Linked DNA regions of Homo sapiens: region 2 is linked to region 1. Evidence: promoter capture Hi-C in human tissues and cell types (Jung and others, 2019). All regions are on one chromosome and are shown on one strand. The core of a region is centred on a gene start or on the middle of the fragment in contact, and the rest is flanking DNA. Distances in the headings are between cores, read along the strand shown.

The links. Contacts are between HindIII fragments. The study calls those that stand out against the background at their distance.
Region 2: a contact is called between a fragment that was not itself captured here and the fragment with the promoter of RPRML in region 1, in 3 of the 25 tissues and cell types used here (IMR-90 fibroblasts, dorsolateral prefrontal cortex and lymphoblastoid cells).

What each region holds. Positions count from the first base shown.
Region 1 is chr17:46,977,530-46,984,260 of GRCh38, reverse strand. It overlaps RPRML (reprimo like), which reads left to right and starts at 5,008. Exons shown (of 1, transcript NM_203400.5): 1 at 5,008-6,105. The coding sequence starts at 5,254. The coding sequence ends at 5,616. LOC101927060 (a long non-coding RNA gene) reads left to right here. Exons shown (of 9, transcript XR_243711.6): 9 at 192-1,475. It also overlaps a transcript of LRRC37A2 not described here. RefSeq lists a silencer at 4,886-5,065 and enhancers at 5,543-6,222, 6,223-6,731. The HindIII fragment of the contact is 12,504 bases long and covers 3,736-6,731 here.
Region 2 is chr17:46,934,208-46,941,713 of GRCh38, reverse strand. It overlaps GOSR2 (golgi SNAP receptor complex member 2), which reads right to left. Exons shown (of 6, transcript NM_004287.5): 5 at 6,545-6,685; 6 at 1-3,115. The coding sequence ends at 2,954. It also overlaps a transcript of LRRC37A2 not described here. Among named protein-coding and RNA genes, the nearest start is that of GOSR2, 15 kb to the right of the region's middle. The HindIII fragment of the contact is 4,781 bases long and covers 1-4,775 here.

The sequences.
Region 1 (6,731 bases), core at 3,759-6,258:
TAAGGATTTAAATCCTGGCTGTGCTATTACCAGCTCTGTGACCTGGGACAAGATCCTTTTCCTTTCCAGGCCTCTATTTTCTCATCTGTCAACTTGTTTCTTTCTACAAGTCTTGCTGTGAAGATTAAATAACAATAAGAACTGATGTGTTTCACTCTGTATCCTCACTCTTCTGTCCCTCTCCCTTCCAGCCAGGTGCTCACCTTCTAGCACATTCTTCAAGAGTTACTCTGAGGCAAGCCAGCCGCCATGTCATGAGGACACTCAAGCAGCACCATGGAGAGGTCCGATGGCGAGGAACAGAGGATCCCCCTGCCGACAGCCAATGAGGAACAGGCCTCCTGCCAACAGCCGTGTAAGGGGTCACCTTGGAAGCCAATGGCCCCTCCCTGGTCAGGCTTTTACATGACTGCAGTCCTGGCCAACATCCTGACGGCAACCTCATGAGAGACCTTGAGCCAGAGCCACCCACCTAAGCTGCTTATAGGTTCCTGGCCCTCAGAAATCACATGAGATCATAAATGTTTGCTCAATTTGAGATATTTGTGATGTAGCAATAAATAACAAACACACTTACCTTTCAGGGTTATTATGAGAATTAAGAGTTAATACACATCAAACTACAACCAAACTTGCTGGGACCAGAGGCTCAAGAAAGGGCAGACAGGGCCGGGTGCAGTGGCTCATGCCTGTAATCCCAATACTTTGGGAGGCCGAGGCAGGTGGATCATCTGAGGTCAGGAGTTCGAGACCAGCTGGCCAACATGGTGAAACCCTGTGTCTACTAAAAATACAAAAATTAGCCAGGCATGGTGGCGGACACCTGTAATCCCAGCTACTCGGGAGGCTGAGGCAGGCCTCACTTGAACCTGAGAGCTGGAGGCTGAAGTGAGCAGAGATCATGCCACCGCACTCCAGCCTGGGTGACATAGCGAGACTCCGTCTCAAAAAAAAAAAAAAAAAAAAAAAAAGAAGAAAGGGCAGACAGAAACCACAGAAGGAGGAGTGGTTAGCTAGGTCCAGGCCAGATGGGGTCCTGCTCCTGACGTGGATGGTTCTGGGAGACCAAATATGCAAATAGACAATGGCCAGACCACATATTAAAATAGAACTCTGCCCCCAAACCTACAGCACCAGCCCAGGAAGCCAACGAACAACCCCTGCAGCAATCAGCCCCAAATGGCCAGGACTTGATGGTAACTGACAGCTTCCCTAATTTTGTTCCCACTTTCAATGCAGGACAAACCGGAGAAAGCCAAATATGCTCCCCTAACCAATTACTTAGGATGCCCCTCTTCTAATGAGCCCAACTGTAGCTTTCCTGCACCACCAACAGGACGTACCTGAAGCCTTCTCCTTTTTCCGCTATAAAGCCTTCCCCTCGGCCTGCCTTTGAGTCTCCATGAAAAGCAAGTGACAGTGGCTGCCTCCCTTACTGTAACAAGCTCTGAATAAACAGCCTTTGCTTGCTCTCATTTGAGTGGTCTTTGTTTACATCCACAAGCCCAAGGTCTCTCTCCCCCTTCCTGCTCCCAGGTCAAAGATGTCTTTTTCCCTCCCCAGCACCTCCCCCAGGGATGATGGGAGAGAGGGGGACGGGGATAATGAAGAGCGTGGCTTTGGAACAGGACAGATCTGGGCTGAAATTCTGGCTCTGATGCTTAACTAGCTGCGTGATCTTAAGTAAGTCAATTAAACAGTCAGTGCCGCTGTTTCCTCATGTCAAGGGGACAGTCCAGCAGAACCCAAAGGCTGGTGTGAGAGAATTCAGGGAGGTAATGTATTTAATGCACTGGGCATGTAATAGATGCTTAATAAAGGAAAGGTCAGCCATCATGTCAGCCTCCTCACAACTCGCTGGAGTGGGCAGGGCCCCATTCTGCATCCTCACTCACCCCACCCCTTTCCTTTACATCAGGCAGTCTGACTTCAGCTGGATGCAATCAAGGTACGGACTCCAAGTCCAGGGTATAGCAAAAGCCAGGGGTTGGTTTCAGACAAAGGATATAACTGAGCATTTCTCTACAGAAATCCAATTGGGCCAAAGCAGAGGACAGAATGTTCGGGCCAGACACCTGCTGGACTCCCTGTTCTATCCTGGCTCCAAGGGGTGATCAGGGCAGGGGAGACTCTTGCCCTGAAAACTGCATGCCTTTGCGCCAGGCCAGCTTTCCCAGGACTGAGGAGCTTGAGCCAGGTTGTTTCCCAATCTGGGGTGCCTATGTGTGCCTCAGTTTCTTCATCTTTAAAGTGATAATTTTGCCAGGCACAGTGGCTCACACCTGTAATCCCAACACTTTGGGAGACTGAGGTGGTAGATCATCTGAGCCCAGGAGTTCGAGACCATCCTGGGCAACATAGTGAGACCCTGTCTGAACAAAAAATAAAATAAAAAATTATGGTGGCACATGCCTGTGGGCTCAGCTACTCAGAAAGTTGAGGTAAGGGGATCACTTGAGCCAGGTGATCAGGGCTGTAGTGAGTTGTGATTGCACCACTGCACTCCAGCCTGGGCAACAGAGCGAGATCCTGTCTCAAAATAAAAATAAATAAATAAAATAATAATTTTAATAACTTACCAGGATATACACACATGCTTAATGTTCTAATAATGAGTATCAGGATGGGTATGGGTGTCTTAGTCTGCTTTATGCTGCTATAACAGGATGCTTGTTATAAAGAGGGCAATTTATAAATAGAAATTAATTTCTCACAGTCTAGGAGCTGGGAAGTCCAAGATCGAGTGGCCAGCATCTATCTGGTGAGTGCCTTCTTTCTGCATTAAAACATGGCAGAAGACATCACATGCCAGAAAGAGAAGAGAGAGAAAGAGAAAGAGGGGTGGAACTCATCCTTTTATAAAGAACCCACTCCTGAGACAATGGCACTAATCTATTCATGAGGGTGGTGCCCCTGACCCAAACAATGGCAGCATCTCACCCCACCTCCCAACACCTCCACATTGGGGGTCAAGTTTTCAACAGATGAACTTGGGGAGACATATTCAAACCATAACAGGGAGCAGAGGCTCTGTGATGCCTGTGTGTTGGGGCATCCCGAATCCCTTCACTCCAATTTGCCATGCCCTTTCCATCCCCTTGTCTCCCACTTCACTGTCACCACTGGAATTCAAGTCTCCAGGCAGCATCTTTTGCCTGCATTATTGCAATAACAAAGTGCTTTCTTTACTCTCCTGCAACAATCAAAGCATGCAAATTAACATACGGGTGAGAAACCACCCCTGCCCCCACCCCCCTTCGCTACTCAGGCAAAGACTTTTAAAATAATGATAACAATGTTGGGGGTGGGGAGCCCCCTTTCCCCACAGGGCATGATTGTACACTGGTATATTTCTGGAAAGCAATTTAGTAGGAAGTACTTTTTGATTCTTTTTTTCTTTTTTTATTTTATTTTATTTTATTTTTTTTGAGACGGAGTCTCGCTCTGTCACCCAGGCTGGAGTGCAGTGGCGTGATCTCGGCTCACTGCAAGCTTCACCTCCCGGGTTCACGCCATTCTCCTGCCTCAGCCTCCTGAGTAGCTGGGACTACAGGCGCCCGCCACCACGCCCGGCTAATTTTTTTTTTTTTTTTTGTATTTTTAGTAGAGACAGGGTTTCACGGTGTTAGCCAGGATGGTCTCGATCTCCTGACCTCGTGATCCACCCGCCTCGGCCTCTCAAAGTGCTGGGATTACAGGCGTGAGCCACCGCGCCCGGCCTACTTTTTGATTCTACAGGTCCATTTTTCAAAATACAATCTAAAGAAAAATCAGTTTTGGCACAAATACTTTGTTACAAGGCTCCTTATGGTAATATTGTTTCTGATGAAAGAAAAAAGAAGACAGAAAGAAAGAAAGAAGAAAGAAGAGAAAGAAAGAAGAGAAAGAAGAAGAGAAAGAAAGAAGAAGGAAGGAAGGAGAGAAGGAAAGGGAGAAGGAAGAAGAAGGAAAGAAAAACTCAGACATCCAGCAGGAAGCTTGGTTAAATAAACTGTAGTAGTCCATACCTTAAAATGCCATTCCTTCACTAAAAATGATGTTGTAGCTCAGTAGTTTGTGCATCACGTGGGAACTGTTAGAAATGCACATTCTGGGGCCCCATCCCACATCTGATTCAGAAACTCTTGGGGTTGGTTGGGGTGGGGAGGTTGGGGGCGGGAGGTGGAAGCAATCTGGGTTTTAATAAACCCTCCAAGGCAATTCAGAGCCATAGCTGTAGAGGACCATCGCTAGGGAAAGTTACGCTGTTAAGTGAGGAAAGGTTGGGAGGCAGTAAGCAGGAACGGTGCATCCCCATATCTGTTATCTAGAGAAAGGCACAAATAGAAAAAGTCTGGGAGGAGTTTATACCCAGGTGATAACATCGACACTCTCTAGGAGGCAGATTATAAAGTTTTAGAGTAATTTCGGTAATTCATGTTTTCTAAACTAGTCTACAATGACTATGTTTGTGTAAAAAAGAAAGAAAAAAACAGTAATTTATTTTTTAATTTAAAAAAAAAGTTAAATGGGACCAAGTTGAGAGGAGGGTGTAGGGAAGGAGGCAGAGAGCCCGCCTCGCCGCGACAGCTTTCACCCCGGGAAAGCTGTGAGGCAGGACCGCCCAGGAGACCCGGGGCCAGTGGAGTGGGCAGCGCCAGGGGTCCCGGCGACTCATCTGATGTCTAGCAAGGCTTACGAGGGCTTAAATAATAAGCGAAGAGAGTCAGGGCAGATTCCGGAATAACTTCACTGCTAAGGGTATCAAATCCTGGAATGGGCACCTTGGAGAGGTTTTCTAGCCAAGAACGGACAGCGGGTGCCAGGAGGGGGTGGAGTTTCGCCGGCCCGCGGACAGAGGCTGCCGGATCTCCCGACCCCCTCCAGCACCGGGACTCCGGGGAGGCTGCGCCCGCGGCGGGATTCCCGCCCCTCGGAGATGCCGCGGGGACCGGCGGGGCGGGGCCGGGCCGTTGCTAGGGGAGGGGCGGCCAGGCGCGCGAGGAACCCAGCGGGCGACCGCTAAGCACACTAGGTTCTCCGGCTCCAGCTCCTGCGCCGCCTGTTGCTCGCTCCTCCGGGCGGTCGCTTCCCGCCCGGTGCCCAGGGGTAGGCGGCCCGAGAGCGCGCAGGCAGCCAGCCTCCCGCCTTCGTCCCCTCCCCGTACCGCAGGAGCCGGTCCGAGGGGTCCGGAGCGTCCCTGAGAGCGCGGACCCCGGCGAGCAGCCCAGTGCACCCGGGACTGCGCGCCGAGACCCCCGGCGCCGCGCGGCGATGAACGCGACCTTCCTGAACCACAGCGGCTTGGAGGAGGTGGACGGCGTGGGCGGCGGCGCCGGGGCCGCCCTGGGAAACCGCACCCACGGGCTGGGCACGTGGCTGGGCTGCTGTCCAGGGGGCGCACCGCTGGCCGCCAGCGACGGGGTCCCCGCGGGGCTGGCGCCCGACGAGCGCAGCCTGTGGGTGTCGCGGGTGGCGCAGATCGCCGTGCTCTGCGTGCTGTCGCTTACCGTGGTCTTCGGCGTCTTCTTCCTGGGCTGCAACCTGCTCATCAAGTCCGAGAGCATGATCAACTTTCTGGTGCAGGAGCGCCGGCCCTCCAAGGACGTGGGCGCAGCCATCCTGGGGCTGTACTGAGCGCCATCTGGGTCCGCCCTCGCCAGCGCTGCTGCAAGAAGGACCCCGGAGACCCGGACCCTCGCCCCGCTCTCTGCGCTCTGCCGCCGCCTCCGGGCGGGCAGCTACGTGCCTGGGGCGCCCGGGCGGGGACGCGGCGAGACTGTCGGCGGGGGCGCGGGAAGGGACTTGGACGCCCGGCTCTGTCCTGTGTGCGCTGCAGCGTTGCGGGGTGGGAGAATGTGGGGTGAGGGTTCTTACCAGTTTTTTTTGTTTGTTTGTTTTTTAAGACGTTCGGGGCAGGGTGGGAGTGGGTATGGAGATGCAATTTGGGACTGCGGTCGCTCGCGTGGGAGTTTTGTGTGTACGTTGGTGCGGGTGGGTTCGGAACACGGTGCGAGTGGGTGAAGATGTGAAGCGTCAGAGTCGCTGAGCTTGTTGGCCTGATCTTGCGTTTGGAAAGAAATCTTGTAATAAAACTGCAGCCGTAGGGCTTCAGGCAGCTTCCCACCCGCGCCTGTGAGGTGTGTGTGTGTGTTGCGGGGCGGAGGGCATGTACCCTCCTGGCGGACACTTTGAGCCCCGTGGGAGACATCTAGCCCCTGCGTGGACGCCTGGCTGGGGAGCCCACAGGTCAGGTCAAGGATCCTGGGGCTCCACGCGGAGGCCAGAGCGAGGAAAGGCAAAGGGAATCGTTTTCTAACGCCAACAGCGGAGAAGGCAGGTCCTGTGGGACAGCCAGACAGCTGGTGAGATTAATTAAATCACTGGATATATGAGTCTAATATGAGATGAAACAAAATCAGTCAGCTGTGTCCAAAACGAAGAAAATGTGAACAAGGAAAATTCAATTTGGCAGAGGGGAAAACTAGATCTAGTTAAAAGTTTAATTATAAGGCCAAAGCCCCTTCTAAGGGCTTGCTTTGTCCCTACCCTTATAGCGGACAGATGAGTAGACGGAAGAAACCCCCTTGTTGCATCCCATAGGGGTGGGGGTTGGCGGCTTTGTGGTGAGGAAGTCCCAGGATGTTTATTATACAATGGAGAAAATGGCCTCCAAACGCAGTTGCCTGCAGGGGACTTGGAGCCTCCCATTACAGGATGCCCCAGCTGCCCAGAAACCCACGCCTCCTGCA
Region 2 (7,506 bases), core at 1,136-3,635, 40 kb after region 1:
TAGTTCCAGCTACTCAGGAGGCTGAGGTATGAGGATCACCTGAACCCAGGAGGCAGAGGATGCAGTGAGCCAAGATTGCGCCACTGCACTCCAGCCTGGGTGACAGAGCGAGACTGTCTCAAAAATAAAAAATAAAATAAAATCACCTTAGAGATTTAAAAAAGGTTCTAATTCAGATCTGGGGTAGGCCCCAGGAATATGTAATTTTAAAAAGCTTCCCCACTGCTTCTGAAGCAGCCAGCCCAGCCCCTGGCCATGGAGCAGTGTTTGAGAATCTCTGGCCTAGAAACATAAAAAAAGGGGGCCATTAGTTATAAAAATGAATATCGAATTCTTTTACAAAATGTGATTTTCTAAATAAAATAAACCTCAACTTTATTCAGCTGATGTGCTTCCAAAACAATGGGTGTAAATCCAAATTTGCAAATCAAACCCATTCAAATTCATCAGGGCAAAGGGTGTACAGAACTCCGCAGTGAAGTCTAAAAAATCAAGACTCCTCTAACTTACTTGGTCTTGGAGTTTGGCTTTTCTTACAGTGGTCCCCCTGAAGTAAATGTCCATGTAATAAAGAGATCTCAAGTTCCTCTTGATAACCCACCTGTTTTAAATCACAATAGGCACACCAAACTCATGTACAAGGTCACAGAGGCTGGCTACCGGAGTTTCTTGCATCAGCTCGACCTAAGAATTCACCCCCGCCTCCACTAGAGGGTGCTCCTTCCCTGGCCTGGACCCTTCCCTACACTGAGGCGGTGGAGAGAGTCACACTGTTAGGCCAAGGTCTATTTTTCACCAGGCACTGAAAGCAGATGTGTGAAGAGAAGTGGTCATGTGACAACATGCAGTCTCAATGCCCCTGGGTGTCCAGACACACTGGCTGCTGTCCACCAGCCGCAGGTGGTAAAGACCCAAAAACCACCTCTGCAATTTTTATTCCAAACTAGAGGACTGGCTCTGAAGGTGCAGCATGAGGGTTCATCAAAGCCAACCACTGTCAAGTGTGGAAAGCACTGGTGCACACCACGAAAAGATGTCCTATCAGTCCACGCATGATGGGTGCGGGGACTTCTGCCTCCCAGAGTTCAAGAACAAATGGCTCAGCTGCTCCCTGCAGACCTTCCTCCAAAGTGTGCTGTCTGGCAGGATCCTTGGGTGCCTGGGGGACAGGACAGCCTTGCCGTCGCAGTCTCAGAATCCATTTTATGGATTACCAAAAGTCCTGCGCTAGGTCCCTGGCACCGCAGCAGTGCTGTGTGTAATGGAAATGTCAATGTGCCTCCCCAGAGTTAGACAGATCTAGGTCTAAAGATGCTGCAACCCCCCAGTCCACCCTCCAGTCACTGCTTTAACTCTGGCAGGGCCCCAACCCATTTTAGGAGTCACAGATTGCTCCTTCCTTGGAAACCTGGGGCCCATTTGGCCCGGAGGGGTAGGAACAATGGAGATCTCCTCCAACCGAAAGTGTGAAATTAGCATCCAGGAAACTCAGTTAATCTATGACAATTAAGAAAACTTACCAAAGGGGAGCTATGCCACAGAGGTGCCTGAAAGGACCAACATGACTACAGAGCAGCGGGGAGGGGAACAAGAGAGGTGAAGAGGAACACAGAAAGGAAGGGAAATAAGACAGAAGACAGTTCAAGCAACAAGAAACTAACAGAGCAGGTAGGGCAGGACAACCAAAGGTAGGGTTAATACTGAGCCGGTTTCCAGATCTGAAGGATTTTGAGTGTCATTTTATGTCTTGCCATGAAGCTGCTGTGCCCAGGGCTGGTAGGCCTGTGGTAAATGAGAACATACACTAACCAGGTCTTTCTGAGACTTTCAGTGATTCACCACATTAGATGGACTTCAGGACAGATTGGCCTTTATACTAAATTCCACAATATACCTGGTATTAGTACAGCCTGAATCCGGGGCTGGTCACAGAAGGAAAAAGGTTGTAGTCCCTGAAAACAGAGTGTTACAAGGACATACACACTACAGATGTCTCCACGGTGGGATCTGCCCACACTGGCTGGGCAAAATGAGGGCCTGGCTGGCAGGTGCTAATATATTTCAGGGAAGAGAAGGGAACCAAAGAATTAGAGATACTAAAACTAGAGCTGAGACTGTAATTGGAAAATCACAAATCTTTGCCTACAGCTACTTTCTAAGGGGCAAAGGCCCACAAAGCCTGGGCGCAGGTGCCAAGCCACAGTCTCTGAACCTTAAAAGCCAACCACTCTATTAACAACTAGAAAAAATCAGTGACTAGGGTCAAGACTGAACACTCCCGGGAAATAACACTGGCCTCACTTTAGAAAAGAGAAACACCCAGCTGTAGTGTGGAAAATCTTACTTGTTATCGGCAATAGCACTACATCTTGTTTCCCCTAGGTAGCTGCTTCCAGGGAATGGTGACAAGTATTGGCAGTCAGTCATCTACATGTCACTGAGGCACAGGGGAGGGTGGCCAGGAGCACGAGGATGTGAATCGACCTACTATTTAATATAATGGCTGTGAGAAAAGGCCTCTTTCCTTTCCTTTCCACTTTTGCTCCACCCTATCAGGAGCCAGAAAGGCCTGATGGTGACAAGGTGTGAACCGTGTGGACAGTCCTGCACACAGGGCTCACTGTGGACACCTTCCCAGGGCACGCATCAGCTATGTGAACAAAGCCACCAAAGCCATTCTTTCCCTCCCCCAGTGAGAGCGAGAGTGAGAGAGACAGACCCGGGACTTCTTTCATTTCCTAAGCACCGCGCATGGTGGTGGCACTAGCTCCCCCTCCAAGATGTCACAGAAAACAGAGCAGGTTGGAAATTAGACCACAATCACTCCCAAGTGTCTTCACAGTTCAGACAGGCAAACATTTCAAAAGGCGGCCTCTGGGCCCCCCTCTCTCTTTCACACACACACACACTTGCAGGCTGTGGGAATGCTGTTCAGCCACTGAGCGTGGCTGGCTCATGTCAGGTACTGCACCACGAGGAACATGACCACACAGGTCAGCAGCATCCCACCTATCATAAAGTACTTGTCCTGGAAAGCCCGCTTCTCGATGAGCCGCATCACTGTGTTGGACAAGCCCAGCATGTTGGCAATGTCAAGGATCTTCTTCTGAGTCCCCTGGGGCAGAAGAGAACAGAAAAAAAAACAAACATCAAGTCGCTTTACCAAGAGTGGGTGAATGGCATCAGGAGATGGAGCTTTGCCAACAGACATTCTCTTGGTCATGCCCAGAATACACAGAAAGCAATATCAGCCAGAAATAGAGCCACTCTCATGTCGTCGACTGATTTTTGATCAAGGTACCAGAGCAACGCTAAGTGGAAAGAAAAGTCTTTTCCACAAATGGTGCTGGAACGACTGACTATATAATATCACAGGTATGTATTTTATATATATGTATCTCTCTTACAGATATGTGTGTAAAAATTGAACCTCAATTCACATTATACATAAAAATTAATTTGAGATGGTTCATAGAATTAAACATAAAAGCTAAAGCCACAATTAAAGCTTCTAGAAAAAAACACAGGAGAATATCTAAAAACTGCAAACAGGCCAGGCGCAGGGACTCATCCCTGTAATCCCAGCACTCTGGGAGGGGTGGGTGGGAGGATTACTTGAGGCCAGGATTTCGAGATCAGCCTGGGCACGTAGTGAAGACCCCTTCTCTACAAAAAAAAATTAGCCAGGTGTGGTGGTGTGCACCTGTGGTTCTAGCTACTTGCGAGGCTAAGGTGACAGAACCACTTGAGCCCAGGAGTTCGAGGCTGCAGTAAGCCAAGATCACACCACTGCACTCCAGCCTGGGTGGCAGAAGGAGGCCCTGTCTCAAAAAATACATAAATAAATACATACTGAAAACAATGGTGTCACTAATCACAAGATGAATGAACAAACTATGGTAAACCTGTACCAATGGAATACTGCTTTGCAATAAAAAGTACCTGACTACCAACATGGAATTAAATAGGTAACAATATGAATGAACCTTGGAAACATACTGGGAGGAAGAAGCCACATAGAAAAGAGTAGCATGAATACCTTTATATGAAGTTCAATAACAAGAAAACCTCATCTATGGTGAAATAAATCACAACAGTGGCTGCCTGGGGCAGAGGGGTCAACTGACTGGGAAGGGGTACGAGGGATCTTTCAGAGGTGAAATGGTCCGGGCCTTGATGGGAGTGTGAGTTACAAAGGCTGATACAATTGCCCAAATTCACTGAATTGTAAAAATATGATCTGTATACCTTACTGTCTGTAAATTATATCTCAACAAAAATACTTAAAATTAGAATATTTTATACTATAAAAAGAAGGCAACATCAAAAAACTTGTCCTCGGCTCTCTAGTTCCAATAATCATTGATACCAACCTATTTACTTTGTAGAGTACAATCTTTGAGGTTTCTTCTGAGTACAATGGGTGGGTCAAGTCCATATTTACAAGAGGGTCTCAAGTGGGAAAGACGGAAAGACACCAACACAATGACCTAAAACCCTTCTATAGATGGCATCACCCACCACCAAAACAAAAGGGCATTTTATTCCTAAACCAACAACCCAAACCATCCAGCCTGTCCTTCCCTACTGCTTTCTAATTTTCAGCTTAAAGCACATTCAATTTCTTAGTAAGAAACAAGTATAAGTGAATGCCGGGGCAGACCCCAAGTCACTCAGCACATATCACCCACTGCAACTTATATGCATGGCATCTAACCTCATGCCCCATATCCTTTTTTTTTTTTTTTAATAAATACACATTAATGAGCAACTGAGAGAAACAAGGAAAGTGAGATCAACATTAGGCATCATGGACAGGAATCCAAAATCTACATTCTGCCCAGAAAGCAATTAAGAAGCCTCAGCCAGAGAAATTACAAGTCAAACTTCATTGCCATCAGAGATCAGAGAAATGTATTTGTATTTTTTTTTCCCCGAGATAGTGACAATACAATCAGACTCTTGCTAAAGTCCTGCTTGGCTCTGAACACACAGATTATTTCATCACTGTATGAGGCTAAGGATCAACCTTCTAAATCACTTGAAAATGACCATAAATTTCAAAAAATGTATTCATTTTCAGCCACAAATTGGCCCCAGTCATCAGAGTGCTTCAGCCTAGCCCCTTCATGCCCTCTCCTATGTTCCTTTTGAATGGTGTAGGTGGAAAATCCCGACGGAGGCAGGGTGTGAGGCAGGTGGAGGGAATCAAGAGACAAACACCAGGTAGCCACAGGTGTGCAGAGGAAAGTTAGAAACCTCAAGTCTCAACCCCCAGCCACCTCACAGCCTTCCCCTCTGGTATCAGTGTGGGTGGCAAGAGGTGTGCTGATGCCCCAGCGCTGCCAGACTTGAGTGGGAAGTTAGCATGTGCCTTAACAGGACGCTCTAACCCCCACTGGCTCTTCATCAGTGTGACATGGAGTTTGGTCCTAAAAGGCCTCTACTGTTTTTCTGAGATATGAAAAGGAGAGTAGCAGTTTTCTAAAGAAAGGGCAGACTAATCAACATGTATCAGTTCAGGTCACTGCAGGTGGCTCTCATGAAAGGGGAGCGCCCAGCAGGCTGCTGGAGACCACCCTTCCAGGCCATCTGAGACACTGCAACTGTCAGCAGGAGGTGAGTGTCACTTGCAGCTTGCCTGACCCTCTCCCCCGTAGAGATGGCAGGGACTGTTCAGAAACGTACTGAAGTCCTGTGGAGCTGACAGACTCAACATGATCCAACAAAAACTAAGATAAAGCTCACACTTCCGAGTGACTGTTTCTCACAGCTCAGTGGCTGGGAGTGCTTCATTCACAGGGGACCACACCCTGATAACAGACAGAACCCACGCCCTATTATCCATCAGGGTTGATACAGGAAAAGGGCAGAGGCTGAAACATCATGACTGACATCAGAGTCTGTGTAATGTTTCTGTAAACCACTCCCAGGGGCTGGAGTCTCAGCAGTGCCAACTGGTCAGGGCTTCTAGGAATACCTAAGGCTAGGGAGTGAAGAGTCGCTGGGATCACCAGCACGGGCTTTAGAAGCTCTAGAAGCTTCTAAAGCTCTAATCTACTGCAAACAACCAGGCAGCCCTAACACTGCACAGTGGGGATTCAGTTACTAAAATACAAAAGGTTTTAGTTATAAGGCAGTCCACAGTAGGGGTCCTAAGGGAAAGCCACCTTAAAGCGAGGTACCAAAGGACAGCCACGTCTTCATTCTTCCAAGAGTAGATTCTGTAACACAATTTCTCAGCCTGTGATTGGACCCCTCGTAGTAGCACTCACTTTCATGATAAGTTCAGTAAATGGGAAAAGACCTGGATCCTAAGAGAGGCCACTTCATGGTTTGTTTCAAGCACTGGCAAAGGAACTGGGTACTTTCAGGCTCACAATAACTCAACTCCAACAGAAAGGATCCCAAACTCAAGGGCTCTGTCTTGTCATCAAAATATCACAATTTGAGGACACGTAATCAAAATATAAACACAGTTACTAAACTGTTGGATGAGGCTAAAACAAGAGGCCTTCTCTCTGTCCCCCAGCAGGGACCCCACCTTCAAGGTCAGTCTCTGGGTCCTCAGTCCATCTAAAATATTGTGCCCATCTAAAATGAGGTCATCCATGCCGTTGTGAACTTTCTGGAGGGAGGAGTTAAACTGCAGTGATTCGTCCATTGGTATGGTGGTGTCAGAGTCCTGTGAAAGAAACACAGGCACTTGATTAACTTTGCTTATCAGTCAGTTCCTGGGGTCTCACTGCTCTGTCTTTTGGCCAAGGCCAAGCCAGAACAGCCGGAGGGGCTGGTGAAAGAATCAGCGGACCCTAATGGATAAGAAAAAGCAAAGCAAAGGCCTGGGGTGGCCTCTGTCCACACAGAAGAGGAACTTCCTCAGATCTGTCACTCTCCAAATGAGTTCCACTCCACAAGTATCGTTCATTCCAACGATACTTGTCTCTGTATCATGATCTCCTCTTAGGAAAAGCTATTCCTTCAAGACCTCATTGGGTGTCTCCTAAAGGCTTTCTCTGACTACTCACTAACCTAGCTGGTTCCAAATGTTCCTTTCCATGGCTTCCCCTTAATGCAGTGTTAAATGTTTGCTCGTGTCCTTTAGCTATTTTATCTATAGTTTACCTCTCCAAGTAGACTGAGAGTTAACTAAGGATAGAGGAGGCTGTGCTTCTGCATTTTCTTTTTTTTTGAGACAGGGTTTCCCTCTGTCACCCAGGGTGGAGTGCAGTGGCGCGATCTCAGCTCACTGCAACCTTAGCCTCCTGGACTCAAACAATTCTCCCACCTCAGCCTTCTGAGTAGCTGGGACCATAGGTGCATGCTACCATGCCCAGCTTTTTTCTTTCTTTCTTTCTCTTTTTTGTATTTTTGGTAGAGACAGGGTTTCACCATGTTGCTCAGGCTGGTCTCCAACTCCTGTGCTCAAGGAATCTGTCCACAGGCCTCCCCATTTTATAGATGAAAAAATGCCCAGAGAGGTAGAATAACTTGTCCAAGATCACA